5 separate regions of the Homo sapiens genome follow, and regions 1, 3, 4 and 5 are each linked to region 2. Evidence: promoter capture Hi-C in human tissues and cell types (Jung and others, 2019). All regions are on one chromosome and are shown on one strand. The core of a region is centred on a gene start or on the middle of the fragment in contact, and the rest is flanking DNA. Distances in the headings are between cores, read along the strand shown.

Evidence for each region. The method cuts DNA at HindIII sites, captures the fragments that hold promoters and counts their contacts. A contact is called where the count stands out against the background at its distance.
Region 1: a contact is called between a fragment that was not itself captured here and the fragment with the promoter of HAND2 in region 2, in 1 of the 25 tissues and cell types used here (bladder).
Region 3: a contact is called between a fragment that was not itself captured here and the fragment with the promoter of HAND2 in region 2, in 3 of the 25 tissues and cell types used here (dorsolateral prefrontal cortex, lymphoblastoid cells and mesenchymal stem cells).
Region 4: a fragment that was not itself captured here is called in contact with the fragment with the promoter of HAND2 in region 2 in 3 of the 25 tissues and cell types used here (dorsolateral prefrontal cortex, mesenchymal stem cells and spleen).
Region 5: a contact is called between a fragment that was not itself captured here and the fragment with the promoter of HAND2 in region 2, in 1 of the 25 tissues and cell types used here (spleen).

The regions. Positions count from the first base shown.
Region 1 is chr4:174,092,373-174,097,849 of GRCh38, reverse strand. It overlaps LINC02268 (long intergenic non-protein coding RNA 2268), which reads left to right. Exons shown (of 5, transcript NR_125896.1): 3 at 21-227; 4 at 1,067-1,118; 5 at 2,397-3,190. Among named protein-coding and RNA genes, the nearest start is that of LINC02268, 130 kb to the left of the region's middle. The HindIII fragment of the contact is 3,001 bases long and covers 2,472-5,472 here.
Region 2 is chr4:173,527,895-173,534,026 of GRCh38, reverse strand. It overlaps HAND2 (heart and neural crest derivatives expressed 2), which reads left to right and starts at 3,798. Exons shown (of 2, transcript NM_021973.3): 1 at 3,798-5,292. The coding sequence starts at 4,738. It overlaps HAND2-AS1 (HAND2 antisense RNA 1), which reads right to left and starts at 3,656. Exons shown (of 5, transcript NR_136196.1): 1 at 3,488-3,656; 2 at 2,949-3,060. The HindIII fragment of the contact is 12,639 bases long and covers 1-6,132 here.
Region 3 is chr4:174,074,183-174,079,586 of GRCh38, reverse strand. It overlaps LOC107986204 (a long non-coding RNA gene), which reads left to right. Exons shown (of 3, transcript XR_001741466.1): 2 at 3,714-3,852. Among named protein-coding and RNA genes, the nearest start is that of LINC02268, 140 kb to the left of the region's middle. The HindIII fragment of the contact is 4,370 bases long and covers 36-4,405 here.
Region 4 is chr4:174,263,522-174,269,080 of GRCh38, reverse strand. All of the region lies in intron 1 of FBXO8 (F-box protein 8), which reads left to right. Among named protein-coding and RNA genes, the nearest start is that of FBXO8, 17 kb to the left of the region's middle. The HindIII fragment of the contact is 4,929 bases long and covers 1-3,823 here.
Region 5 is chr4:174,046,760-174,052,629 of GRCh38, reverse strand. No RefSeq gene overlaps it. Among named protein-coding and RNA genes, the nearest start is that of LINC02269, 150 kb to the right of the region's middle. The HindIII fragment of the contact is 8,130 bases long and covers 1-5,568 here.

The DNA.
Region 1 (5,477 bases), core at 2,723-5,222, 560 kb before region 2:
GTTCATCCCCTCCTCCACAGGAAAGGACTCAGGCAACAAATAAACAGCTAAGATTTTACTAGAGTATGAAAGGGAGAGCACTGGAGTGCAGTGCGGGGATGGAGATGCAGCTGTGGTGGCTGGAAGTACAGGAGGGCAGCTGGAGGCACCTGGCCTCTGAAGCCTGTCTTCTTCATCTGGGTGAGATCTGCTGGAGTCAGGAAGGACTTCCTGCTGCAAGGATAAAGGTAAGCAGAAGATCTCCACCAGTGCCCACTGCCATCACAAACACCTACAATCCTTATAGCAGGTGAATCCAGCAGTCCTCACAAGTCCTGAGACAGGTTTGGAGTCTTGCTGGGAATTCACACAGCTGCATTGTCCTAGATTAGGAGAACAAGGTGTGGACCCCCAACCCTCTATTCATCCCCTGTGAGCCATGGTGCTATAGCATGGCACCATACTGAGACCAGAGCTACTTCTGCAGTGTGCCCTGCTCTGAGGGCCAGTAGCCACTTCACCTCTCCAGCACTTGGGCTCCATCTTCATTCCACCAAGCCCATATGGGAAGCTGAACACCTCAATCCCAGATTCGTAAAGCATGGGCCAAGGATGGGCTGTGGCTCTGGTCCTGTTCTGTTCAGGGTGAACCTGCCCTTGAGCTGGCCAAACTGCTGCATACCCTCCCCAAAGCAGGAGAGGCCCCCAAGCCTGTGAGCAGCTGATATGCTCCAGGGCCAGTGAAGTGGCTATGTGCTTGCACCCAGGAACTGAGAAACAGTCCCACAGCACACCTGCACCCTCCAGAGAGAGCCCTGGCCTGCCCCAGTGGCCCTGTATCCCCATTCAGGGCCTGAGAAACAATTCCTCAGGCCACTCTTGGCAGGTATGATACTAAGCTGACCAAATAGCCAAAAACACCTATCCCAGACCTGAGTATCAGCCCTGTGGGCCAATCCAGGTGGACATGCCCCAGGCTGGCCAAGCAGCCATGTACCCACATTCCGGGCCTGAGAAACAGTTTTTTGGGCTGCTGTTGGTGAGGACACCCCTGAGCCAACCAAGCATCCTTGCAATTGTGTTTCAGACCTAAGAAGCATCATGACCTGAGAAACAGTTTCACAGGCCACTCTTGGCAGGTATGATCCCAGGCTGGCCATACAGCCAAAAGCCCACATCCTACATCTGAGTAACAGCCCAGGCTGACATGACCCCAGGGCAGACATGACCCCAGGCTGGCTGCCTATTGAGTAATTTCTTACGTTTTGCCTCCTCACAAATGAAATGCTATCATTTGTGAAAATATAAATAGAATTGGAGGATATTATGTTAAGTGAAATAAACCATGAACAGAAAGTTAAACACTACATGTTCTCATTCATATTTGGAAGGTAAGAAAACGTTGAACTCATAGAAGTAAAATAGAACAGAGGATACCTGATGCTGGGAAAACTTGGGGGAAGGGAAGGATAGGAAGGGATTTGTTAAAGAATATAAAAGTTAAACTGGATGAAAGGAAGTTCTTGTGTTCTCTACCACTGTAGGATGACTATAGTTAACAATAATATATCATGTAGTTTAAATAGCTAGAAGGAGGATATTGAATGTTCCTAATACAAAGAAATGATAAAAATTTGAGATGATGGATATGCTAATTATGCTGATCTGATCACTGTCTATTTATCAACACCTCATTATATATCCTAAGAATATGTACAATAACTATTTGTCAATCTAAAAAATTAGATAAAAATTGTTTTGTCTTTTCTGGGTACTTTACATGTTCATATATATTTTTGAGTCAGCTTGTCAATTTCTACAACAAAAGCTTGTTGGGATTTTGATTGAGATTATGCTGAATTTATAACTTGTGAAGAATTGATTTCTTTACAATATTGGACCTTCCAATACATGAACATAGTATATGTCTCCATTTGTTTAGGTGTTCTTTAATTTTTTTAAACAATGTTTTGAAATTTCCAGGATTTTTCACTGATTTAGTTAAATTGATCCTTAAATATTTAGCTTTTGATGCTGTTATTTTTATTGAAAATTTCTAATTGTTACATTCTAATACATGAAAACAGTATATATCGTGAAATTTCAAATAAAAATTATATATAGAATATATAATATATAAATATACTTTTTATATTATATGTATGTCATATATTTATATATCGTATATATGTATATTTATTTATATATTATCTATATATTTATATATTCCATATATATTTTTATATGTTATCTATTTATATATATTTTACATATATATTTTACTGGTCAGGTGAATTTCTCAGAGGCAGTTTACAATTTGATCTTTTTAATGTCATATATATATATATATATATATATATATATATATATAAAATTTCTTTTGAGACAGGGTTTAGGGGTTTTGCTCTGTCACGCAGGTGAAGTGTGGTGGCGTAATCATGACTCACTGCAGCCTCGAACTCCGGGACTCAAGCTAATCTCTTTCCTCAGCCTTCCCAGCAGCTGGGACTACAGGTATATGCCACCAAACCTAGCTAACATTTTAAAAAATTTTTTCTTTTGTAGAAACGGGGTCTTGCTATGTTGACCAGGCTGGTTTTAAACTCCTTGCCTCAAGTGATCCTCCCATCATTGCCTCCCAAAGTCTTGGGATTACAGGCATGAGCCACTGCGCCCAGCTACAATATATTTTGGATGCTGACTTTATATCCTGTGACTTTGCTATGGTCGCTTATTATTTCTAGACATTTTTGTTTTTGACAGAGTCTCACTGTTTTGCTTAGGCTGGAGTGCAGTGGCACAATCTTCATTCACTGCAACCTCTGCCTCCTGGGTTCAGGCTATTCTCCTGCCACAGCCTTCAGAGTAGCTGGGACTGCAGGCACGCAACACCATGCCCGGCTAATTTTTGTATTTTTAGTAGAGACAGGGGAATCACGATGTTGGTCAGGCTGGTCTCGAACTCCTGACCTCAAGTGATCTGCCTGCCTCGGCCTCCCAAAGTGTTGGAATTACAGGCGTGAGCCACCATGCCTGGCCACGGTTTTTTTGATCCTTTAGGATTTTCTACCAAGACTGTCATGTCATCTATAATCAAGTACTCTTTTATTTCTTTTTTTCCAATTTGTTTGTATTTTATTTCTTTTTTCTCAAAGCTTATTGTACTGACTAAGATCCCCAGAATAATGTTGAATAAAAGTATTGGAAACAGACATCTTTTCTTGATTCTAATATCTAGGGAGAAAGCTTTCACTATCACATACCATTAGTAATAAGATTAACTGTACAGTTTCTGTAGATGCCCTTTACCAAGTTGAGAAAGTTCCCTTTTATTTATACTTTCCTGGGAGTTTCTACCATGCACTAATGACATTGAATTTTGTCAAATGGTTTCTCTACATCTATTGAGATGATCATATGGCTTTTCTTTTGTAGTCAAATTTAATTTATTGATATGATGAATTACACTTATGGATTCTTTTTCAATGCTCAAATAAATGTTTATTCCCTTTTATTCTTGACATTATTATTTGGTCAAACCAGATGAAATTACAACTATTTGAATTTTTAAAGTAACAAAAGAGCAATTATAAGTAGTATAACAACAACAAAAGTATAAGTCTAGTTCATTTAGCAATACCAGAAACAAATTGGTGGTTACATTCTACTCCGCAAACCGCATAAAGATCAGATCTCTCCCCAAACTAGGGTTATGCTTTAGTGGTATCGGTAATAAAATTAGATGGTATCTCTTTTACAGTTAAATCTATAATTCAGGCAGGGGGAATGAAACTCATTCATTTCCAAGTCACCAAAAGCTCTTTTCTGGGGAGAGTGGGCTACAATATTGATTGAGAACAGGAGAGAAAAAGGAAAAGAGCACACCAGAAGCCCAGAAATCCAACATTAGATAGGGTCAGTGCTTCCCAATAATGTAAATACCAGGTCAATTATCCAGTCACTTTCTTCTCTCTTTTTTTTTTTTTTGAAACGGAGTCTCGCTTTGTCATCCAGGCTGGAGTGCAGTGGCCTGATCTCAGCTCACTGCAAGCTCTGCCTCCTGGGTTCACACCATTCTCCCGCCTCAGCCTCCCCAGTAGCTGGAACTACAGGCGCCCACCACCACACCCGTCTAATTTTTTGTATTTTTAGTACAGACAGGGTTTCAACATGTTAGCCAGCATTGTCTCAATCTCCTGACCTCCTGATCCACCTGCCTTGCCCTCCCAAAGTGCTGGGATTACAGGCGTGAGCCACTGCGCCTGGCCTCTTCACTCTTTCTGAGAGACCTGACCACATCCTTTCAAGGATCGGTATATGGTGCCTCCAAACTGAGGCATTTAAAAAACAAATAAACTTAAAACTCTAGAACAGCTTTAGATTTACGGAAAAATTGTAAACATATTATAGATAATTCTTGTGTACCCCACACCTGGTTTCCCTTTTAGCATCTTACATTGGTATGGTATATTTGTTACAATTAAGGAAACAATGCTGACAAATTATTATTAACTAAACTCCATATTTTATTTGGATTTTCTTGGTTTCTATCCAACATCTTTTTCTGTTTCAGAATCCCACCCATCCTAAGGCATTACATTTAGTCATCATAGCTCTTTCTTCACAGAATTAGAAAAAACTACTTTAAATTTCATATGGAACCAAAAAAGAGCCCATATAGCCAAGAAAATCTTAAGCAAAAAGAACAAAGATGGAGGCATCATGCTAACTGACTTCAAACTATACTACAAGGCTACAGTAACCAAAACAGCATGGTACTGGTGCCAAAACAGATATATAGACCAATGGAATAGAACAGAGGCCTCAGAAAAACGTCACCCATCTACAACCATCTGATCTTCAACAAATCTGACAAAAACAAATAATGGGGAAGAAATTCTGTATTTAATAAATGATCTTGGGAAAACTGGCTAGCCACATGCAGAAAACTGAAGCTGGGCTCCTTCCTTACACCTTATACAAAAATTAACTCAAGATGGATTAAAGACTTAAACGTAAGACCTAAAACCATAGAAACCCTAGAAGAATACCTAGGCAATACCATTGAGGACACAGACATGGGCAAATGACTAAAGCAACAAAAGCCAAAATTGACAAATGGGAGCTAATTAAACTAAAGAGCTTCTGAACAGCAAAAGAAACTATCATCAGAGTGAACAGGCAACCTACAGAATGGGAGAAAATTTTTGCAATCTATCCACCTGACAAAGGGCTAATATCCAGAATCTACAAATAACTTAAACAAATTTACAAGAAAAAAAACAAACAACCCCATCAAGAAGTGGGTGAAGGATATGAAAAGACACTTCTCAAAAGAAGACATTTATGTGGCCAACAAACATGAAAAAAAGCTCATCATCACTGGGCATTAGAGAAATGCAAATCAAAACCACAATGAGATACCATCTCACGCCAGTTAGAATGGCGATCTTTAAAAAGTCAGGAAACAACAGATGCTGGAGAGGATGTGGAGAGAT
Region 2 (6,132 bases), core at 2,549-5,048:
TCCTTCTGTCACCTTCCAGGCTTGATGTTCTTTCGATGGTTCTTAGCTTGTTCTGAGGCTCATCTCATGTAAGAGCATTAAAGATTCTTAAGGGAACGGTCAGAGTCACTTCCACTATGTTGGTTAGAAAAACAAGGTGAAACAAGATTTGAAAGACGATGATGAGAATTGAGCCATAATTCCCATGAACATAAAATGTGCATTTATGACCCTCTGGCCTGATTCTTTTTGGGTCCAGTTTATTTTGGGTTCTTATGAGCAAAACAGAGGATATAAACTGCCCTTGCCTTTGAAATAATAAACACCCTGAGACAATCTGTATTTTCCCTAAAACCTAACTAAAGATTTTTTTAAAATTAGTTTAAACCAGATTGATTTTTTCAAGTATAATAATATCTCACAAGACCAAAATGTTTGCATGGCCATGTTCAGCCTCTCTGCTGCTCTTTCCGTCTTTTTCCAGAGAAAGAAGTAGCAGTGACGGCAAAGAGACAAGAGACATGAGGAGCAAAATAAATGCTTGAACCAGATTCTGTCTATTTGGCTGAAGGCAGTTGACATGTGCAGTACAGTAGGTACACCATCAGCTACAACAAAGGTACAGAATCCCAAACACTCACCCAAACCTGGGCTGCCTCCTTGTGAAGCAGTTTCTGGACACGAGTAAGGCCGGTTTTGGCTCAGCCCTCAGCCTCTGAGGAGAGGCAGAGAAGCACTCCTAGCTAAGATTCCTCCACAGGCACCCAGAGGAGCCCCCAGCAAGCCAGTTCCCTGGGCCTTTGAGTACTTACAACATGTGCATCAGCAGCTACACTAGTGCAGCCCAGGAGTGGGGTCCCCATGCTGACATCGATGTCAGGGACTGTGCCTTTCTCCCTTTCTTCTCCCACTTTCCCTCTCATCACCAACACCACCCTCTCCTTCATTGCCACCACTGCCAACACCTCCATCACTACCACCAGGATGCCCAGGACACCTAAATTGAGGGCAAACTTGAGATGGCATCCTTGCTTCACAACTTCCCAAAGGAGCAGGCTAACCCAGTATCCTGGAAAACCTGGAACAAAACAGGCCAAAGGACACTGCAAGAGAAAAGTGGATGCGTTTGTGCATTTAGGGTAGAGCTCAACCAGTCAGGGCCAGCCTGGCCTCCCTGAGTCAGTTACTACAGTTGGGGACACCACTAGGGTTCATCCATTTGTCCCCTCTCATCAAGCCAGCTTTCTAAGGCAGTGACCTCTGGATTTGGGTTTCTGAGCCACATCAAGTCTTAGGCCCTTGGACCACAGCAGTTAACTGATAATGACACTGTGAGTGAGAACTGATGTTCAGATTAGCATCTTTTATGATTTCTTTTTTCTGTACCATGTTGTCCATTTCCTTTACCACTTGCAATGCTATCTGGAGCCACGAGGTAATTCATTCATTTTTGTTTGTTTGTTTGTTTCAATTAAAAGCATGAGAAAAGCTAAATGTGGCAAGTTCTGAAGCTTTCAAAAGTGAGGCCACTCACCGCTGGTCTCTGGTGGACAGAGCATCTCAATCCCTAACTCAGCCCTCCTCTGGACTCTTCTTCCTCCCTTCAATTCCCAAAACTCCCTTTGGGTCTTAAAGCAGCCAACCAACTAATTTCCCTGAATTTTTATATGTTCCCAGCCCCAGTGCAATCTTACTTTGTCTACCTGCTCCCAAGGCCTAAATGTGTTTTTATAAACAGACTTTTCAAAAACGTATCAAATGTCAGAGAATTGAACTACCAGTATTTACACATTCGGGGTTTGCCTCCGGGTGAAAATGTAAACAGAACCCCCAACCACACTACCTGCATTCTTTCCTTGAAGAACCAGGTCTTTAAAAGGCTCTCCTTGTGCTAAAAAATTGCAGACCCACGCAAGTTGGGGGTTTAGAGCAGTAGGTCACTATTTTGTTCCGAGCTCAACTGCAAGCCCCTGGCGCTTACCAACGAGCCTAGTTTCAGTTAATCCCTATTCTAGGTTCAATGCTTTAAGACGCTTGTCTGGGGACGTTCAAGGATGTTAACCCCTTTCCTAGAAAAAGAATGGGCCCTGCACCGACTCTAATCCTGGGCTTTTAAGTCCCTGTCTCCTACCGCCCAGCCGCGGCAAACCTGAAATATATATATTTCTCAATCCTGCTGCCCAAGACTCTAGGGCTAGTGGAGGGCAGAGCCCGAGCACAGAGTCAACTGCAACACCGAAGTTGGGCGCCCTCCATTCGCACTGACCTCGCCTTCCTGCCCCAACCACTTTGTCGGCGGTGAGCAAGGAAAGGACTGTCCTTGTGGAGTCCTTCGGGTGGGGATCGCTTTGTGGCCTGCGGCCGGACTCTGCCCGCCTCCAAAGGGCGATGCTCAAGGTGGAGTCTTTGGTCTCCCTTGGGCTAACCTGGCCTGACCAGCGGCGAGCCCCAGGCCGCCCTGTCCCGCGCTGGCGCCGCAGGCCCTCGCCTCCCTCTAATTTACAGCCCGCGGGCTCCTGTTGACACCGTTTTCCACACCGAACTCCTTCGGGTGGAATCTGCATATACACATCAGCCTCCCCTCTCGGCTTGGGGCCAAGCCTGGGGTGATTTCAGCTCCTGCCATTTACCACCCGCCCTCGCCGCACGTGAGCCTTCTCAAGAAGCTCATGCCACACGGGCGCTGCGGCCCGGGTGCCCCGCGGCCCGGTGACTTACAAGTGGAGATCCATTTTCCGTTATAATGCGTTCAAGATCACCAAGGCCAGCAGTCTCAACATCCACGAGCCGTCCTCCCGGCCTGCCTCTTAAACTGGCGTTTAATGGTTCCCCTCCGATAACTAAACCTGCTTTCCACAGATGCCCGCTTTTATGAGGGAGGCAGGAATGCAGAGATATATTTATATGTTTGTTCATAAAAACTGGAAAATAAGCTCTGAACACGCCGTAAAAAATATTCAGTTACTTACCAAACAGGCTAGTTAAACCAGGGGAACACCGATACCAGCCACACTACAGATTCGGGGAATCGAGGTGCCCGCACTTCAAAATCGCCCAAGGTCTTCGTAGGGACTGGTGTCCCTGAAGGATGTGGAAATAACAGCATTTACAATCGGCTTGACATGTTCGCCCGGAGGACTCAGCCGTCATCTCCAAAGTTTGCCGCAATAACGTGAGCCACCCCAAACAGCTCTAACCGGGGTAACTTGGTGGGTAACTCAATAGCCACTGAGACCGGCGTTTCGAGCCTGTAAACGGGTCAAAGAAACACCCTTCTCCAGCCGCTCCTCGTCCCTGCTGGGGCAAAGAGCGCCAGCTCCCAGCCGCGCCTTTGTGGGGGCCCCCACCGCCCGTCACGAGGCTCCCGGCGCCCCTGCATAAAATTGTAAGAGGCTGCCTGCGTATATTTTCTTACCTCGATTACCTACAAAGCACTTCGAAAAGCAATACCTGCGTTTTCTTTCTTTCTTTCTTTTCAACCAGAAAAGAGAGCAGAGTGATACTGTACCTGGTTAGAGATTCTTCAATATTTGAGACTTGGGGGGAAAATATTTTAATAGTGAAGCATCTGTTAAACACTTGCATTATCCTCTGACTGATAAAAAAAGTTTTTTTAACCCTGCCCCCCCCCCCCGCCAAGTTTTAATTATCTTATGGTTATGAGGAGGTAGCCAATCCTGGAAGAGGACCTCGGCAATTAGCAACGTGAACATCAAAAAGTTTTATTGCCGAGAGCTCGAGGCGCCGCCCCTGCCGCCCCGGGATTGGCGTGAGGAGCCTCTGACGACATATATTAACCCGAGCGGCCCTAAAGATGTAGCTGTACATGGAGATCTTGCTGGGAAAATCCGCTTGCTCCCCTCACGTCGTCCAGCCCAGGAGAACCACCGCCGTCACCCCGGAGCTTCCTCGGCCACCGCGCAGAGCCCTCCGAGAGCCCGAGCCGCGGTCTTCGAGCTCCAAGGCTCATTCAGGGCCCCAGATCCTTGCCCCGAAAGGAGAGGATCTGAGAAAATGGATGCACTGAGACCTCTCTGAAAACCCTCCGAGAGAGCGCGAGAGGAGCGAGGACACGTTACTCGCAGCTAAAATCACATTTAAGGACCAAAACAACAACAACCAAAAATTTCATTAAAACAATAAGCGCCCAAGAACCCAGATCGGGCTGGTGGGGGGAGGGGAAGAGGCGGGAAGGGGAGGGTCGCACGGAGGTAGCTTTGCAGTGAGCAGTCGACCCCGCCGCCCCCCGGCACAGCTGGACCGGCTCCTCCAGCCGCGGCTCAGACTCGCCCCTGGATTCCGGGTTAGCTTCGGTGCCAGGACCGCGGCCCGGGCTTGGATTCCCGAGACTCCGCGTACCAGCCTCGCGGGAGCCCCGGCACCTTTGTATGAGCACGAGAGGATTCTGCCTCCGCGCAGCAGCCCGGGAAGCAGGAGCCGAAGCGCGGGCCGTGGAGCAAGGCGGGAACCGGAGGCGGCGGCGGCGGCGGCCAGGGGCGCACGGTGCCAGGACCAGCTCGCCGCGCCCCATGGGGAGCCGGCGGCCGCAGCGCTGCTGAGGCGGGCCCGGCTGGCCAGGCGGGGGGACGGGGCCCGGGCTGCAGCAGCCCCCTCTGCGGCTGCCGGGCGGGCCCGGGCGCCCGGGGGCTGGGGGGTGGGGGGTGGGGGAGGACGCCGAGCGCTGAGGCAGGGGCCCGGGCCGAGGGCGCGGCGGGGCTGCGCGCACGCTGGGGCGCGTGGAGGGGCGCGGAGGGCGAAATGAGTCTGGTAGGTGGTTTTCCCCACCACCCGGTGGTGCACCACGAGGGCTACCCGTTTGCCGCCGCCGCCGCCGCAGCTGCCGCCGCCGCCGCCAGCCGCTGCAGCCATGAGGAGAACCCCTACTTCCATGGCTGGCTCATCGGCCACCCCGAGATGTCGCCCCCCGACTACAGCATGGCCCTGTCCTACAGCCCCGAGTATGCCAGCGGCGCCGCCGGCCTGGACCACTCCCATTACGGGGGGGTGCCGCCGGGCGCCGGGCCCCCGGGCCTGGGGGGGCCGCGCCCGGTGAAGCGCCGAGGCACCGCCAACCGCAAGGAGCGGCGCAGGACTCAGAGCATCAACAGCGCCTTCGCCGAACTGCGCGAGTGCATCCCCAACGTACCCGCCGACACCAAACTCTCCAAAATCAAGACCCTGCGCCTGGCCACCAGCTACATCGCCTACCTCATGGACCTGCTGGCCAAGGACGACCAGAATGGCGAGGCGGAGGCCTTCAAGGCAGAGATCAAGAAGACCGACGTGAAAGAGGAGAAGAGGAAGAAGGAGCTGGTCAGTACCAGGGGGCGGCAGGCGGTGGGGCTGAGGGGGTCAGGGAACTGGTGCTCCCGGCCTCTTTCCAATTGGGCTGAGAAATGGCATCTCGTGTTCTTTGGCTGCGTCCCGCTTCAAGGTTGTTTGCACCAGGTTGTGTAAGGATGGCTTCCGGCATAAGCAGAGAGTTGAGGGGAGGGTGTCAGCAGGAGGAGGAGAAGGTTAGGGATGCTTTGCGCTGGTGATCTTACCTCCGGGTTATCGCTGCTCCCCTAGTACTTAGGACGGACCTTGAAAACTCTGGGTCGCGATCGATCGCGATCGCACTGGTCTGGATGCCTCACCCCGTCTCTGTTAGACCCTTCTTTTGGCCTCCAATCCAATCTTGCTTTCAGATGTTTCCAGAATAAGTCTCGAAGAAGCCCTTGATTCCAATTATTTCACTATTGATCGCACCCCCTACCCCACTCCCAGAAGGAGGCTGCCAGAGACTGAGCCCTGAGTTTTGTGGTTGTTCTCATACTATGCCCGGAAAACGTAATGGTAAACATAAAATAAGTACTTTTGACTTCAAAATACAGCTCCAATTTTTCCTTGGCTATGACGTTAAAATGTAATTTCCCAGATGAGTATATTCCATTGGCATTTCTAATTTTATTTGAATAAGCCTGTACATTTTAAGGGGGAAAAGGCATTACTATGGTCATTGTTATTAAAAATAACACGAAAGTAAATTGAGCCGCTTAAAATTTTCTCAGATTCCTACCAAGTGCCCACAGGGCAGTGGTGCAGGATAGAGCTATGTCCACGAAGGGCCCGGAAAATAATTGCATTTGTCGAATTTTTCTTCTTTGGCCC
Region 3 (5,404 bases), core at 971-3,470, 550 kb before region 2:
ATTATTTCTTGCCTCCAGAACTGTGAGATAATAAATTTTTGTTTTTTTAAGTCATCAAGTTTGTGGTAATTTCTTATAGCAGATACAAACGGTAATACCCTAGGGAATGGTATATATTCTCCATGTTCAAGAAAACCAAATGTCTCATTCACCTTCTAAGCAGGACTGTGTAGAAAGAGGAAGGCATTTATTCATTCATTCACTTCTTCATTCAACAGATATATATATGGGGAGCCTGTTATATATTCGACATTGTTGTGGATGTTTGGAATACATCTATGAAAAACACAAAGACCCCTTTCTTCTTGGGACACATATTCTAGTAGTTGAAGGCAAATATAAATAAACCATAAAAATAAGCACATTTTACTTTAGAAGATGAAAAATTCAATAGAAAAAAAAGTAGAGCAGAGTAAGGGAGATTGAGAGGGCCATGCAGAAGTTGGGGTGAGTTGCAGATCTAAATAGATTGATCGTGGTAGGGGTTGTTGAAAAGGTAGGATTTCAGCAATGACTCAAGAGGGTAAAGGTTTGCCAGTAGATTATGAGGAGGAAGAGACTTCCATGCAAAAGAAACAGCTAGAGCGAGGACTTTGAGATGTGGGAATGAAAATGCCTTTTATGTTTAAAAACAGAAAGAGGCTAGTGTGATGGAGCACAGTGAAAATGGTAGAAGATGAAATCAAAGGCAAGGAGGCGATGATCCAGGAGGACCTTGCAAGTTATAGTAAGATCTTTGGCTAGTCTGATGGGCAGGCATTGGGTGGTATAAGCTGATAAGTGGCATAATGTGATTTAACCAGTAAAAGTGTCATTCTAGCTGCACTGTTGAGCATTCTGTGGGGATCAAATATAGACTCAGGGAGACCTATCAGGGAATTATTGTAGCAATCCAGAAAAGATATTATAGTGATTCGGATCAGAGTTGTAACAGTACAGATGGAGGGAAATGGTTGATTTCTGGACAAGTCTTGAAGATAGAGCCAACAGTTTCTGACAGGAATAAAAGATGACTCCAAAATTTGGGGTCAAACAACTAAAAGGTTGGCATTTTCGTCAAGTAAGATGGAAGTGATATGGGTGGAGTGAGATTTTTGTTGTGGAGGGGGAGGGAAGGACCAGGGTTTCAATATGGTTTGAGCTGTTAGACATCTACGTGGAGATGTCCAGCAGGTATTTGAATATATGAATCTGGGAGAAAGGTTTGAGAGGGAGATATTTTGTGAGACTTTTGCTTCCAGCAATATCAGACAAGCTTATTTCAGACCAAAAGTCCTACCAATAATAACTAGAAAATCTAAACAAAAATTTAAAGTAATTGTCTGAAGGTGTTGATTATCTACCAAAGCAGCAAATATTCAGGAGGATTTCTTTAAGCAGAAGTGAAATGATCCAGATGGAACCATGTAGCTGCATTAAGAAAAACAAGCAAAATAAAGGGTAAATATTTGAGTATATAGAAATGAAAATTAATTGTATAAATTGCTTTAGGAGTGTTAAAGCAAACTAAATATGGCCTGAGAAGGACTCTGTACTTTTATATTTGAGTTCTTGTGGACAAACTGCAACCTAACTTAGTAGGTAGACAAGATTGAAACCCTAACTTTGGAGTATGTGCCTGTAACAGTGGCTGAGTCTTGGTCAGTCTTATCAGCCATATTTCAACCATAAGCTGCTGAGTGTTCAAACTGTGTTCAAATAAGGTAAACACCAACCTGCAACCAATCCAGCTGTTTCTGTACCTCACCTCTAATTTCCGTACATCATTTTTATTTTTGTCTATAAATTTATTCTGACCATGAGGCATCCCTTGAGTCTCTGAGAATCTACTGTGATTCTGGGGGCCTGCCTGATTCACAAATCATTCATTGCTCAATTAAACTCCTTTAAATTTAATTCAGCTGAAGTTTGTCTTTTAACAGGGGGTTTGAAATATATGTCAATTTAAAATACATAAGAATAATTGTACAACAAGTAAGCTAGGTAATTGCAGTTATATTATTTTCAGCTTCTAGCAATATCTGGAAAGTGGTAAATGCTAATTTATATTAGATTTTAATAAGTCAAGGATTCATGCTGTAATCTCTGACTAATGACTAAAAATATTAATGTTACCAGGAAGAAACAGAATGATAAATAAGATGAGACAAAATATTTAATTAACCATAGAGAAAGTAAGAGAGGAGGAAAATGGAATGTCAGACACGTTGGATGCAGAAAAATAAATAAAAAGCAAGGCATTGATTTAAATCCCAATACAGCAGGAATTATATTAAATATCAATATAATAAAGACTCTAATTAAAAGGCAATAATTGTCAGACTCCTTAAGAAATTCAACTATGTAATACTTAATAGATACATGCCTTAAAAAAGGAAAAAAAAGGATGGAAAGTCACACACAGTACAAACTAACCAAAGGAAATCTGATATATTTAAATGAATGACAAAGTTGATTGTGGGCAAGAGACATTACTAGAACTGAAGAAGGACATTTTGGAATGATAAAATTTTCCATTCAGTAGAATGACTTATGAATTCTGAATTTGCATGTACTTAATACATAGCCTGAAAATTCATAAAGCAAAAATTGATGTAACTAAAAGGACAGCAGAATATCCACAATATATTTGAAGATTTTAGCAAACATCCCTCAATAACTGATAGAACAGGCAAGAAAAAATTATAGGGTTATAAACACAATTAAGTTACTTGATATAATCAATAGATACAGACCACTGTACACAGTAACCAAAGAATGCCTATGCTTTTCAAATGTATTTTAAACATTTGCTAAAATTCATCATAAAAATACTAAATTTAAAAAGATTAACTGGAAAATCTTCAATATAATCCCCAACGTAATTTTGCAGAAATATATGGGGCAGCAAAACATAATTGCAATTAGAAGATATTTAAAACTGAATAATAATGAAGATATGATATATAAGTACAAGCATACTTTATTTTGTGATGCTTTGATTTATTGCACTTTGCAGATATTGTGTTTTTTACAAATTGAAGGTTTGTGGCAACGCTGTGTTGAGCAAGTCTATTGGTGCCATTTTTCCACTGGCTTGTGCTCCCTTTGTGTTTCTGTGTCACATTTTGGTAATTCTTGCAATATTTCAAACTTTATTGTTAGTAGTATTATATCTGTTATGGTGATCTGTGGTCAGTGATCTTTGATGTTTTTATTATAACTGTTTTGGAGTACCACAAACCACACCCCTATAATACAGCGAACTTAATCCATAAGTGTGTGTGCTCTGAATGCTCCACTGACAGGCTGTTCCCCTATCTCTCTCCCTCTCCTCAGGCCTCTCTTCCCTGAGACACAAAGATATTGAAATTAGGCCATTTAATAACCCTACAATGACTTTTGCGTGTTCATGTGAAAGGAAGAGTCACATGTCTTTCACTTTAAATTAAAAGCTACAAATAATTAAGCTTGTGAGGAAGACATGTCCAAACTTGAAATAGGCTGAAAGCTAGGCCAAACAGTCAGCCAATCATAAATGTAAAGGAAAAGTTCTTGAAGGAAATTAAAAGTGCTACTCCCGTGAACACACAAATGATATGAAAGCAAAACAGCCTTATTGCTGATATGGAGGAAATTGAGTGGTCTGGATAGAAGATCAATCCAGTCACAATATTCTCTTAAGCCAAATCCTATACCAGAGCAAAGCCCTAACTCTCTTCAATTCTGTGAAGGCTGAGAAAGGTGAGGAGGCTGCAGAAGAAAAGTTGGAAGCTAGAAGAAGTTGGTTTATGAGGTTTAACGAAAGAAGACGTCTCCATAACCTAAAAGGGCAAGGTGAAGCAGCAAGTGCTGATGGAGAAGTTGTAGCAGGTAATCCAGAAGATCTAACTAAGGTAATTGATGAAGGTGGCTGAACTAAAGAACAAATTTTCATTGTAGATAAAACAGCCTTCTACTGAAAGAAGGTTCTAGTCTGTGGTATGGTGGCTCAGACCTGTAATCCCAGCACTTTGGGAGGCAGGGGTGGGAGGATCGCTTGAAGCCAGGAGTTTGAGACCTGTCTGGGCAACAAAGTGAGACCCTGTCTCTGTGAAAAATACAAAAGTTTCTATGGAAAGTCAAAGAGCCATGAATGTCTAAGACGATCTTAAAATGCTAAATAAAGTTTGAGGAGTCATTTCTCTTCTGTAAGTTAATATAAAGTTAATACGATTGAGACAGTGTAGAATTTAGGCAGACATACACAAATATACCAAAGGCACAGAATAGACAGTTCAGAAACAGACCACACACATAAGGATAATTAATTTATAAAAAATTGACACTGCAGGGCAGTGAAGAATGATTGTACTTGCAGTAAACTGTACTACATCAATTGAATATCAACATGGGAAATAAAGTTATCATTTAATCTCTATCTCACATTCTTTAGTCAGAGTTCTCCAAAGAAATAGAACTAATAGGAGATATATGTATACACACATATGCATGTTTATACATATATATTTATAAATTTATTATAAGAATTGGTTAATACAGTTAAGGAGGCTGAGAAGTCCCATGATCTCCTGTTTGAAAGCTGGAGACCCAGGAAAGCCAGTGTTGTATTAAATAAATGCCAGTCTGAGTCTGAAGGCATGAGAACCAGGAGCATCAATGAAGTAAGTCCCAGTCCAAGGGCAGAAGATCCATGTCTCTCATCAATGAGTCAGGCAGAGAGAGAACTTTTATATCCTATTTTTGACCCAGAAGGCACTGAAGTAATATTGTTAAATAAATAATAAATGCTTAGATGAGAAAAAAATAACTTCTAAAAGTTCGTTAGACAAATAATGTGCTAACCCTTCAGGAAAAAAATTGACAAATCAGACTCCACTAAAATTAGAAAATGTTATTAATCTAAACATACGATTAAGAAGATACTACAGAAATTGCCAGATGACAAAATGTTTTAGGTGTTTCAATATCTTGGTAGAAATTCATATTGCTTTAAGAATTTGGGCAGAGATTGAGATTTAACCTAGCTAAAACATTTAATTAATTGTAAAACAACAGATTCCACTGCAAGGAGGGTATTTATCTTGTCAGAGATTATACATGAAATTGTTCTCTCAGTCAAAAAAGCATAGATTCATTCCTACTGAGACATTAATACTATTTAATTTAAAAATTAATATGCGTTAGAATACTCCCATTGTCATGATCTCTTCTTTCATTGTGCCTTTATTTCAGAATAAATTTTAGTACTAAGGGTAAAAAATATGTTTTAGTTATTTCCTTTGTGATAGAAATTTAGATAATTTATTGGAATTATTGGCTATTACATAACTACATATAACTACGTAGTAACTTATGACCATTTCCATTACAAAGTTTAAGCTTTGCTGTCCTACATAAAATTGTGAGTAAAAGAGTAGCTTAA
Region 4 (5,559 bases), core at 110-2,609, 740 kb before region 2:
AAAATAAATTCAAATTTGGAAGAAAAGGCATGGGACACCTTGAATTGTATTAATTACAGTTGATCTTCATTATTTATAATTTTGTATTTGTGAATTTACCTACTCACTAACATTTATTTGTATCTCCCAAAGGAGTACGCCTGGTGCTTCTGCCGCCTTTAGCAAACATGCGCAAGAGCTGAAAAAACTGTTGTTCAAGGTGCACATTCGCAGCTGAAGTTGAAGGCAAGGCTCTGCCTTCTTATCTTAGCTGTCATTATAAACAAGTGTCCTTTTTGTGGCTTATTTAATGCCACATTTCCCACATGCTTTTTCTTGGTGATTTTAGTGTTTAAAACGGCCCCCGGCCGGGCGCGGTGGCTCACGCCTGTAATCCCAGCACTTTGGGAGGCCAAGGCGGGCGGATCACGAGGTCAGGAGATGGAGACCATCCTGGCTAACACGGTGAAACCCCGTCTCTACTAAAAAATACAAAAAATTAGCCGGGCGTGGTAGCAGGCGCCTGTAGTCCCAGCACTCTGGAGGCTGAGTCAGGAGAATGGCGAGAAACTGGGAGGGAGGCGGAACTTGCAGTGAGCCGAGATCGCGCCACTGCACTCCAGCTTGGGCGACACAGCGAGACTCCATCTCAAAAACAAAACAAAACAAAACAAAACAAAAAATGGCCCCCAAGCCTAGTGCAGAAGCGTTATCTAGTTTTCCTAAGTGTTGTGCCTTATGGATAAAATACATGTTAGATAAGCCTCATTCAAGCCTGAGTTATAGTGCGGTTGGCCATGAGTTCACAGTTAATGAATTAGCAATATGTATTAAATGTCTTTCAGCAGAAACACACATACAGTAAGGTTATGTATTGATCAGTTAATGAAAATATTGTGAATAGAGGCTTACAGTAACCTAACCCTGTAATTCCCTAGGAACAATGGTTCAGTATTGCTAATTCAGTGTTTGCAGAAACTTTAAAGAACATAATTGCCATGAATAACAAGAAGCAACCGTGTTTCTTTTATTTCTGTATGAGATAGACTAACATAGACTATGCTCTTAGAAGAGTAAATATTTTTTCAAAGAAATAAATATCTATTTTCTCCACCTATTTTGAGTGAACAAATAAAGCTGTAGTTTCATCACAAAATCCATATTTACACCAAAACTAGTGATTTCAAATACAAAAACTTATTTTGTGTTGAATTTTTTTTGAATTTGAAACTTTTTGCATATTCAGTGATTCCACATTGCAGCTGAATTTTATTTTACCTAACAATTGCTGCAAGTGACAGGACAGTAATATATCTTTTATAATATTATGTTTCAGTTTTAAAATCTTTATACCAAGATATTATTAAAACTTTTAACACAAATCTGAAAACTTTATACTTTGAAATTAAGTTTTAATTGGTTCAGTCTAAACACTATTTTCAAGAGTTTGAAATCATGGACGAACCCCGCATGAAACTGCATCATATTCTACATCTCTTTTAGAGCTAGTGTTGACAGTTTATTTTCTTTTAATTTTTAATTTTAATTTTTTTTAGAGGCAAGGTCTCACTCTGTCACTCAGGCTGGAGTGCAGTGGTGTGATCATAGCTCACTATAACCTCAAACTCCTGAGCTCAAGTGATCTTCCTGCCTCAGACTCCTGAGTGGATAGGACTACAGGTATGCACCATCGCACCTAGCTAACTTTTTTTGTATTTTGTTGAAACGGGGTCTATGTTGCCCAGTCTGGTCTTGAACTCTTGGTCTCAAGCAGTCCTCCTGCCTCAGCTTCTCGAAAAGTGCTGGGATTACAGACATGAGTCACCATACCTAGCCACATCTTGACAGATTATTAACAATAACACAAAGACCTATTTCATGGAACTGCTATTGGCACCATCCTCAGGCATGCTGAGTTTTAAAATTTTCTGTGAAAGACAACACAGCCTTTTTTTGTTTTCTAGAGTTTTTTGTTGTTGTTGCTGGGTCATTGATATAAAAGAATTGGATTTACAAGAAGAAACAACATAAAAACATGGTCACAATATGAAATAACTAAAGGAGGTGAATTGTGTGTAGAGGCCCTACAAAGCTGTGCAAGTAGCAACATGAACAAATAAGCTTATTCAACAGGCAGGACATCAGAACAGTTTAAGTATCATTAAATAAGCTTTATGAAAGTGCTTATTTTCACTTGATAAAAATATGCTTGTCAAAGTAATATCTAACGTATTGACTGTTAGTTAACTGTTAGCCATGAAATTAACTTTATGTACATTATCTTACTTAACACAATAGCTTTTTGAGCTATAGACATTTTTATCATTATTATTTTTTGCATTGTACATGAAGAAACTAAAGCTCAGAGTAGTCAAGTAACTTTCCCAGGGTCCTGTAAGTAAGAACTAATAAAGTCAGGATTTAAACCCAGGTCTGTCTGACTTCAAAACCCATACCACTATACTCCCTCCATGACTTGCTTTACAACTTATACAATGGATGTCACGTCATTTTGAGAGTTTTAAAGCTTTTCTGACAGTTACACCCATGTTTCACATCCCTATTATGCTAAGGAAGATAGGGAATGGGGGCAGAACGCTACAGACTCCCTTTTCTTTCTCCAAATGCTAAACTCATGATGTTACTCTTTCTCAGAGTGCTTTATCATTACTGTGTTTTTACCCAGGATCAAGAACTGCTTTAAAGGGAAACGAAAGTCCCAAGGGGACAATTTTCAGTATTGTTTAGCAGTAGGAATACAGAAAATAAGGTATAATTTTGCAGTTTTCTTTGTCTGAACTATGTATACATGAGCCTCAACCCTCCAACCTCCCCATTATTATTATTATTATTTTTTAAAGAACCAGCTGCTGGCTTTACCTCTTTCTACCTGCCGGATGCTTTCTGAATCATATTATCCAGTGTGTTCAATTTAAGTGATCCCCATTAAAGTCCGGAGCCTAGGGAAATCACCCTGATTCTTTGTTCCCTAGCAACAGGCCTAAGAGTAGCAACAGCTGCTTAACCATATGCCACTAGAAAGATTCTGTAGGAAAATAGACTGAAATTGTTATAAATGTTTTAAATATTGAGACTTCAGATACTGCAGTTACCATGTTTGATAATTTACCTTTAGTGGTACAAAAACAAAAGAGAATAAATTTAATTATTTAAAATAACAGCTGTGCTAGGTGAGCTCAGCAATTAATGTGATTTCTAGATATTTTCTTGCTAAGTTAAATAGAGGAATAGCAATGGTGAAAATAAAATACTTTTCTTTATGATTAGTAGACTTAAAATGTTCAATTTGTGTCAAAATTAAGTTGTACTTAATGTTGTAATGTGACATGGTACATTTAAACAAATATAAAACTTGTACTTATAATTTTTTGTTGACATTCTCTATTTTTTGTACGTTGATCATTTCTACTGTCTCCATAGTTTTGCCTTTTCCAGAATGTCTTATAATTAGAATCATACAGTAAAGAACTTTTTTAGATTTGCTTCTTTTACTTAACATTAATAATAGGCACTTAAAGTTCCTCCATGTCTTTTCATTGCTTGATAGCTCATTTCTTTTTAGTGCTAAATAATTTCCCATTGTATAGATATACTGTACCACAGCTTATTTATACATTCGCATAATGAAGTACATCGTAGTTGCTTACAGGATTTGAAAATTAATTACCAAAACTGCTTTAAACATTCACGTGTAGGTTTTTGTGTGGACATAAGCTTTTAATTAGGTAAATACCTAAATAAAAAGCTTTTAATTAGGTAAATACCTAAATAAAAAGCTTTTAATTAGGTAAATACCTAAATAAAAAGCTTTTAATTAGGTAAATACCTAAATAAAAAGCTTTTATTTAGGTAAATGATTCAGCTAATGCTGAATCATACAAAGTATGTTTAATTTTTAAAGAAACTACCTGTCTTCCAAAGTGGTTGTATCATTTTGCATTCCTACATTCTTGCCAGCATTTGGTATTGTCACTGTTTCGGATATACTCTTTTAATGGGTGTGTAGTAGTATCTCATAGTTATGTTATTTTCAGTTCCCTCACGACATATGATGTTGAGCATCTTTTCATGTGCTTATTTGCCATTTGTGTATTTTCTTTGGTGAGGCGTCTATTCAGATCTTTTGCTCATTTTTAAAGTGGATTATTTTCTTACTGCTGAGGTTTAAGAGTTCTTCACATATTTTGGATGCACAGTCTTTTTATCATATATGTGTTTTGCAAAGATTTTCTCCTGGTCCGTGGCTTGTCTTTTTATTTTCCCGATATTCTGTTTTTTTTTTTTTAAGAATTTTATTTGTATAGCTTAACCACTGATTTAGGAAAAAATACCATGGTGTCGTGTGTAGTAGGGAGAGAAGGGTTATCTTTTGTGCCTTCTTTTCAAAAACAAATGTGCCTACATTTTAAAATTATTAATATGTTTCTTCTCTTTGTACCTCCCCACCATACCTGTATAGCTTAAGCTGCTGGGATTCCAAGCAGTGCAATATAAGGTGGGGGAAGAGTTAAAAATTATCCTGGACTATTTTTTCTGTTTTAATCAACAAATGACCGAATTTAGTGGCCATTACCCAAATAATAGCCAATGGTTTAGTAAATAAATGCGTGGATTATACCTTTTTAAATACTAAAATAAAATCCCTATGGATTCTTCAGAAGTACCTGGGAAAAGACACCAGAAGAAGGCATGCTCTAGTCTGCCCACTATTTTTTCTGTTTTAATCAACAACAATCTTTGACATTCTTTGAAGTTCCACTCAATTTTCAAATTATTTCTGATTAAAAGATATCTAGTCACTGTTGTTGGTTTGTTTTTTGTCTTTTGGGGTTTTTGCTTTTGTTTTTGTTAGTACTTATTGTAAACAGTTAATTGAAGCCACATTATATTTTAAGTTCGGGTCATGCTATAAAAATTATTTGACTATTTTAATGATTTTATGGGAAAGTTAGTATTTTTTCCAAGTTTTTGAAACACACAGGTATTAGTAGTCAACTCGAGTTGATAAAAGTATTTTGTTTGAAAAAGAGATCATGAAAGTAATTATTTGTATTCATTAGGAACTCCGATTTAGTTGTTCTGAATGACTTTATTTGCTCCAGAAAAGCTATTTAAAGGCAATGCCAAATCTAGCTCTAGGAATTTTCTAATACATTTGTACATGAGGAAGTCAATATATGTGACAGACAAATGTAGAATGCTCTGGTGGGAGGTCAGATGGTAGTGGGGAGACTAGAGCACACCTTTCTTCTGGTGTCTTTTCCCAGGTACTTCTGAAGAATCCATAGGGATTTGTGGAGAAGAATTAGAAAATTTCTCTAAATTACAATTTTTAATTTAAGGCAACAACAAAACTAAATAGTCTACTGTTACCGAGCTATTTATCATGGAGTTCTAGGTGTCTAATTTACAAGGTTTCTGAATTAGACTTCAGGGCCTATGTTACATTTTATTACAGTCTACAATGTAAGTGTAGACTGGCAAGAATTAAACTAAAAGCCTGTTTCCCAGCTGTTACGCATCTGGGAGTTTGGTTAAAAGGAGCTAGCTTAGCTTAGA
Region 5 (5,870 bases), core at 254-2,753, 520 kb before region 2:
TTTCCTTATAGATGCTGGATAAATTGGACCTTTGTCTATGCATAGCTTGTGGATATTTGTGAATATTTTCTCTCATTTACAAGTGAGTTTTGATGGAAGCATTTAAGGCCTTGTATTCTCAGCCTACGCTCCTTCTGGTAGAGCTTCTCTGTTAGTGGGGGTTGAGAGGAGGAAGGGAGATAGATTCTTTCAGCCATGTCTGTCTGGAATATTGCTTCTGAAATATGGAACAGAAGATAGGGATGAAAAATGCTAGTGGTCTGTCCCTCCCAGCATGAAACCATATCTCTGTGTGGGAAGCAAGGTGGAGAGAGACCCCTACCTTCTTGGCTGCACATGCCAAGAGTAAAACTGTTAACACACTGAGCTGGAGGAAGGAGTTATGAGTGGGTCATGGCTCAAATGCCACAGATTCTCACTGATCATATTAAGATTTATTAAATCTTTTTGAATATATGTTTCTTCATTTGCTATTTGAAGAAGATTTCTCCTTGGCAAATTTACAGAAACTTTAAATATTTGTTTTAAAATAATTTTTAGCCGGTAAATTTTTTGTTCTTGGGAAATTATGTGTCATACTCTCACACCATCATTTCTGAAATGAATTTTACTACAGTTTTTAGATAAGTTTGTTTTGTCTGGTTAGAAAACTGTTCCTGTAGTTTTGACTCAGAACTTTAAAAAGTCAGTAATGAATGTGATTTGAGGATCAATGTTATATTAGTTTTATAAAAAGGGGTCCAGTTTCAATTTTCTGCATATGGCTAGCCAGTTTTCCCAACATCACTTATTACGTAGGGAATCCTTTCCCCATTTCCTGTTTTTGTCCAGTTTGTCAAAGATCAGATGGTTGTAGATGGGTGGCATTATTTCTGAGGCCTCTGTTCTGTTCCATTGGTCTATATATCTGTTTTGGTACTAGTACCATGCTCTTTTGTTTACTGTAGCCTTGTAGTACAGTTTGAAGTCAGGTAGCATGATGCCTCCAGCTTTGTTCTTTTTTCTTAGGATTGTCTTGGCTATATGGGCTCTTTTTTGGTTCCATGTGAAATTTAAAGTAGTTTTTTCTAATTTTGTGAAGAAAGTCAATGGAAGCTTGATGGGGATAGCATTGAATCTATAAATCACTTTGAGCAGTATGGCCATTCACACAATATTGATTCTTCCTATCCATGAGCATGGAGTGTTTTTCCATTTGTTTGTGTCCTCTCTTATTTCCTTGAGCAGTGGTTTGTAGTTCTCCTTGAAGAGGTCCTTCATGCCCCTTGTTAGCTGTATTCCTATTTATTTTATTCTCTTTGTAGCAACTGTGAATTGGAGATCATTCACAATTTGGCTTTCTGCTTGTCTATTGGTGTATAGGAATTCTTGTGATTTTGCACATGATTTCATAGATGAACTCATGAAGGTGAGAAAGAATCAATGGAAAAATGCTGAAAACCCAAAAGGCCAGAGTGCCTTTTCTCCTCCAAATGATAGCAACAACTTTTCAGCAAGGGCACAAAACTGGATGGAGGATGAGATGGATGAATCGACAGAAGTAGGCTTCAGAAGGTGGATAATAACAAACCTCATTGAGGTAAAGGAGTATGTTCTAACACAATGCAAAGAGGCTAAGAAACTTGATAAAGTTTAGAGGAGTGGCTAACTAGAATAACCCATTTAGAGAGGAACATAAATGACCTGATGGAGCTGAAAACACAGCACAAGAACTTTGTGAAGCATACACAAGTATGAATAGCCAAATCGATCAAGGGGAAGAAAGAATATAAAAAATGGAAGACTATCTTGCTGAAATAAGACAATTGGACAAAATTAGAGAGAAAAGAATGAAAAGGAATGGACAAAAAACCTCTGAGAAACATGGGACTATGTAAAAAGAACGAAACTATGACGGATTGGAGTACCTGAAAGAGATGGGGAGAATGGAATCAAGTTGGAAAACACACTTCAAGATATTATCCAGGAGAACTTCCCCAACCTAGCAAGGCAGGCCAACATTCAAATTCAGGAAATACAGAGAACTGGACCCCTTCCTTACGCCTTATACAAAAATTAACTCAAGATGCATTACAGACTTAAACGTAAGACCTAAAACCATAAAAACCCTAGAAGAACTCCTAGGCAATACAATTCAGGACATAGGCATTGGCAATGACTATGACTAAAACACCAAAAGCAATGGCAACAAAAGCCAAAATTGACAAATGGGATCTAATTAAACTAAAAACGGCTTCTGCACAGCGAAAGAAACTATCCTATAATCAGAGTGAACAGGCAATCTACAGAATAGGAGAAAATGTTTGCAATCTATCCATCTGACAAAGGGCTAATATCTAGAATCTACAAAGAACTTAAACAAATTTACAAGAAAAAAAACAAAAACCCCATCCAAAAGTAGGTAAAGGATATGAAGAGACACTTCTCAAAAGAAGACATATATGCAGCCAACAAACATATGAAAAAAAACTCATCATCTCTGGTCATTAGAGAAATGCAAATCAAAACCACAATGAGATACCATCTCACACCAGTTGGAATGGTGATCATTAAAAAGTCAGGAAACAACAGATGCTGGAGAGGATGTGGAGAAATAAGAATGCTTTTAGACTGTTGGTGGGAGTGTAAACTAGTTCAACCATTATGGAAGACTGTGTGGCGATTCCTCAAGGATCTACAACCAGGAATACCATTTGACCAGGCAATCCCATTACTGGATATATACCCCCAAAATTATAAATCATTCTACTATAAAGACACACCCACTCATATGTTTATTGCAGCAGTATTCACAATAGCAAAGAAATAAATGAAATTGAAAATAGGAAATCAATAGAGAAAAATCAATGAAACCAAAAGTTGTTTTTTTAAAAGATCAATAAAATTGATAGGCCTCTAGCCAGCCTAACCGAGAAAAAAGAATACAAATCATTCATAGCTGAAATGAAAGATAGGGTATCATTACAGGTTCTATAGTGATTAACAAAATAATACAGTAATATTATGGATAACTCTATGCCTACAAATTTTATAACATAAATAATATAGACTAATTTGTTGAAACACACAACCTGCCAAAACTCACCCTAGGAGAAATAGACAATCCGAGTGGGCCTATATCTGTTAAATAAATTGAACTTAATTAATAATTAATACTGAATAATTTTCCAAAACAGAAAGCACCAGGCCAGATGGGCTCACTGGTGAATTCTACTAACGATTTTAGGAGGAATTGTACTAATTCTATATAATTTCTTTCAAGAGATAGAAGTAGAGGAAATATTTCCTAACTTAATCTATAGGCCAGCATTATACTAATACACAAAGTAGGCAAAAATATTATTAGAAAACTACAGACCAATTTCTCTCATGAACATAATGCAAAAATCCTTAATAAAATATTAGCAAATTGAATCCAACAATGTATAAAAAGAATTATATATCACAACTAAGTGGGATTTATCCCAAGTATGCAAGGCTGATTTAATATTCAAAAATCAATTAATATAATCTACCACATCAATAGGATAAAGAAGAAAATCACTTGACCATATTAGTAGATGCAGCAAAATCATTTGGCAAAATCCAGCACCTATTAATGATAAAAACTCTCAGTAAACAAAGAACGGGGGGGATCTTTCTCAACTTAATACAAAATATCTACAAAATACCTACAACTAACATCATATTTAATAGTGAGAAACTTGAAGATTTTTCACTAAGATCAGAAACAAGGCAAGAACGTCTCACCACTGCTTTTCAACATCATATTAGAAGTCCTAGTTAATAATCCTAGTCAATAAAACAAGAAAAAGAAACTTGTAATCAAATGCGGTCCAAAAATATTATACATTGAGGGAGAGAGAGAGCACACATTCATATAATTTTTATTACACTATATTGTTATAATTGTTCTTTTATTACTAGTTATTGTTAACCTCTTACTGTGCCTAATTCATAAGTTAAACTTTATCATAGGTATGTACATACAGATAAAACATATTACCTGTAGGGTTAGGTATATCCAGGCTTTCAGGCATCCACTACTGTACATGGGACACCTCTGTACTTTTCATCCAATTTTGCTTTGAACCTAGAATTGCTCTGAAAAACTAAAATCTATTTTTAAAAAAGTCATGTTACCCACTTTTGAAAATGTTTCAAATTGCTGAAATAAATATACCTTTTCCACTTATTGGCTTCAAGGTGCTTTTGTTATTTTTGTTGTTTAAATCATTTATGTCTTATTTTGTCAATTTGTGGGTATAATAAAAACTCTCACTGTGACTATGAACTTGTCAATTTCTCCTTGCAATTCTGACAATTTTTCTTTAAGTAGAAATCTATTTTGGATGATAACATTGTGATTTATTTTTCTTTTTAAAATAATGGAATGCCACTATTCATAGTAATAATTTTTTCATTTTAAGCTTATTTTGTCTGATATTAACATTGCTGTATCAAACTCATCTAATATCTGCATAATATATTTTTCATCACTATATTTGCAAATTTTCTCTGCAGTTTTGTTTTAGTTGCAATTGTGTGTGTATGTACATGTATTCAAGTGTGTGTGTTTTGTAAACATCATGCAGTGGATTTAAAAAAATCCATCTGCTAATCTCTTACGGTATGCCAGATTAATTTACTTGAATTGCTTATATATTTGGACTTCATTGCATCAATTTACATAAACTTCATTATATCAACATCATTATGAATTTATTATATTGACTTCATTATATCATTTAATATATCAACTTGTATCTGTTTATCAATCATTTGCTGCTTCTCTCCCCTCCTTTCCTGCTGTATTAGTTTGCTAGTGTTACCATAACAAAATAACACAGGCTGTGGAGCTTAAACAACCCAAATTTATTTTCTCACAGTTATGGAGGGTAGAAGCCCAAAAGTAAGATGTTAGCTGGTTTGATTTCCTCTGAGGCATATCTCTGTGGTTTGCAGATGGCCACCTTCTCCCTGTGTCCTCACATGATCTTTCCTCTGTGTGTGTGCATTTCTGATATCTCTCTTGCTTGTCCAAGTTTTCTCTTTTTATAAGGGCACCAGTCACACTGCATTAGGACCCCGCTCCCATGATCTCATTTTAACTTAATTAGGGCCCCACCCACACGACCTTATTTTAACTTAATCGGCTCTTCAAAGGCTTTATCTGCAAATACAGTCACATTCTGAGGTACTGTGGCTTAGGTCTTCCGCATATGAATTTTGGGAATCAAAATTTATCTGATAATACCTGACTTATGTTTGCTTGACAGTGTTATACTCAGTTATTTTTTCTGTGTTTGGAAGTTATTGATTGCATTTAATGGGCACACACAAGATTATAAACTTTTCTAACAAGTTAAACAATGCAAAATGTCTCTTATTTGTTCCTTCCTTCAAGATTTACTTTTCATTTTGCTGTTTTGTTCTTTTAAGAAAAAGCCTGTGGTAGATACTTTCCTTTATCCTATTTCAGAAAATATATGGATGTACCTTTAATCTCCAAAGACAGACAACCAGGATAACAGTTTTTAATTGAAGAACTCTATTTTCTTACATCCTTAAACATATTATTGTGTTGTCTTCTGGCATCTATTGATACTGGTGCAATTTGTTTTCCTCCTAACAGTATTTTTTTTTCTATGTGATGGCTTTTAGGATTTTTCTTTTTACCTTTTTGTTTCTACATTTTTACTATAATATGTTTTAATGTACTTATTTTTATTTATCTTGCTTATAGTTCGAGTACATTTGCAGTCATATAATTCATTATTTTATCTATTTCCTTCACTTGGAAAATTTTCAGAGACTGTAAATTATAATGTTGTTTCATACAATTCACTCCATTATACTTTCAAAAACAT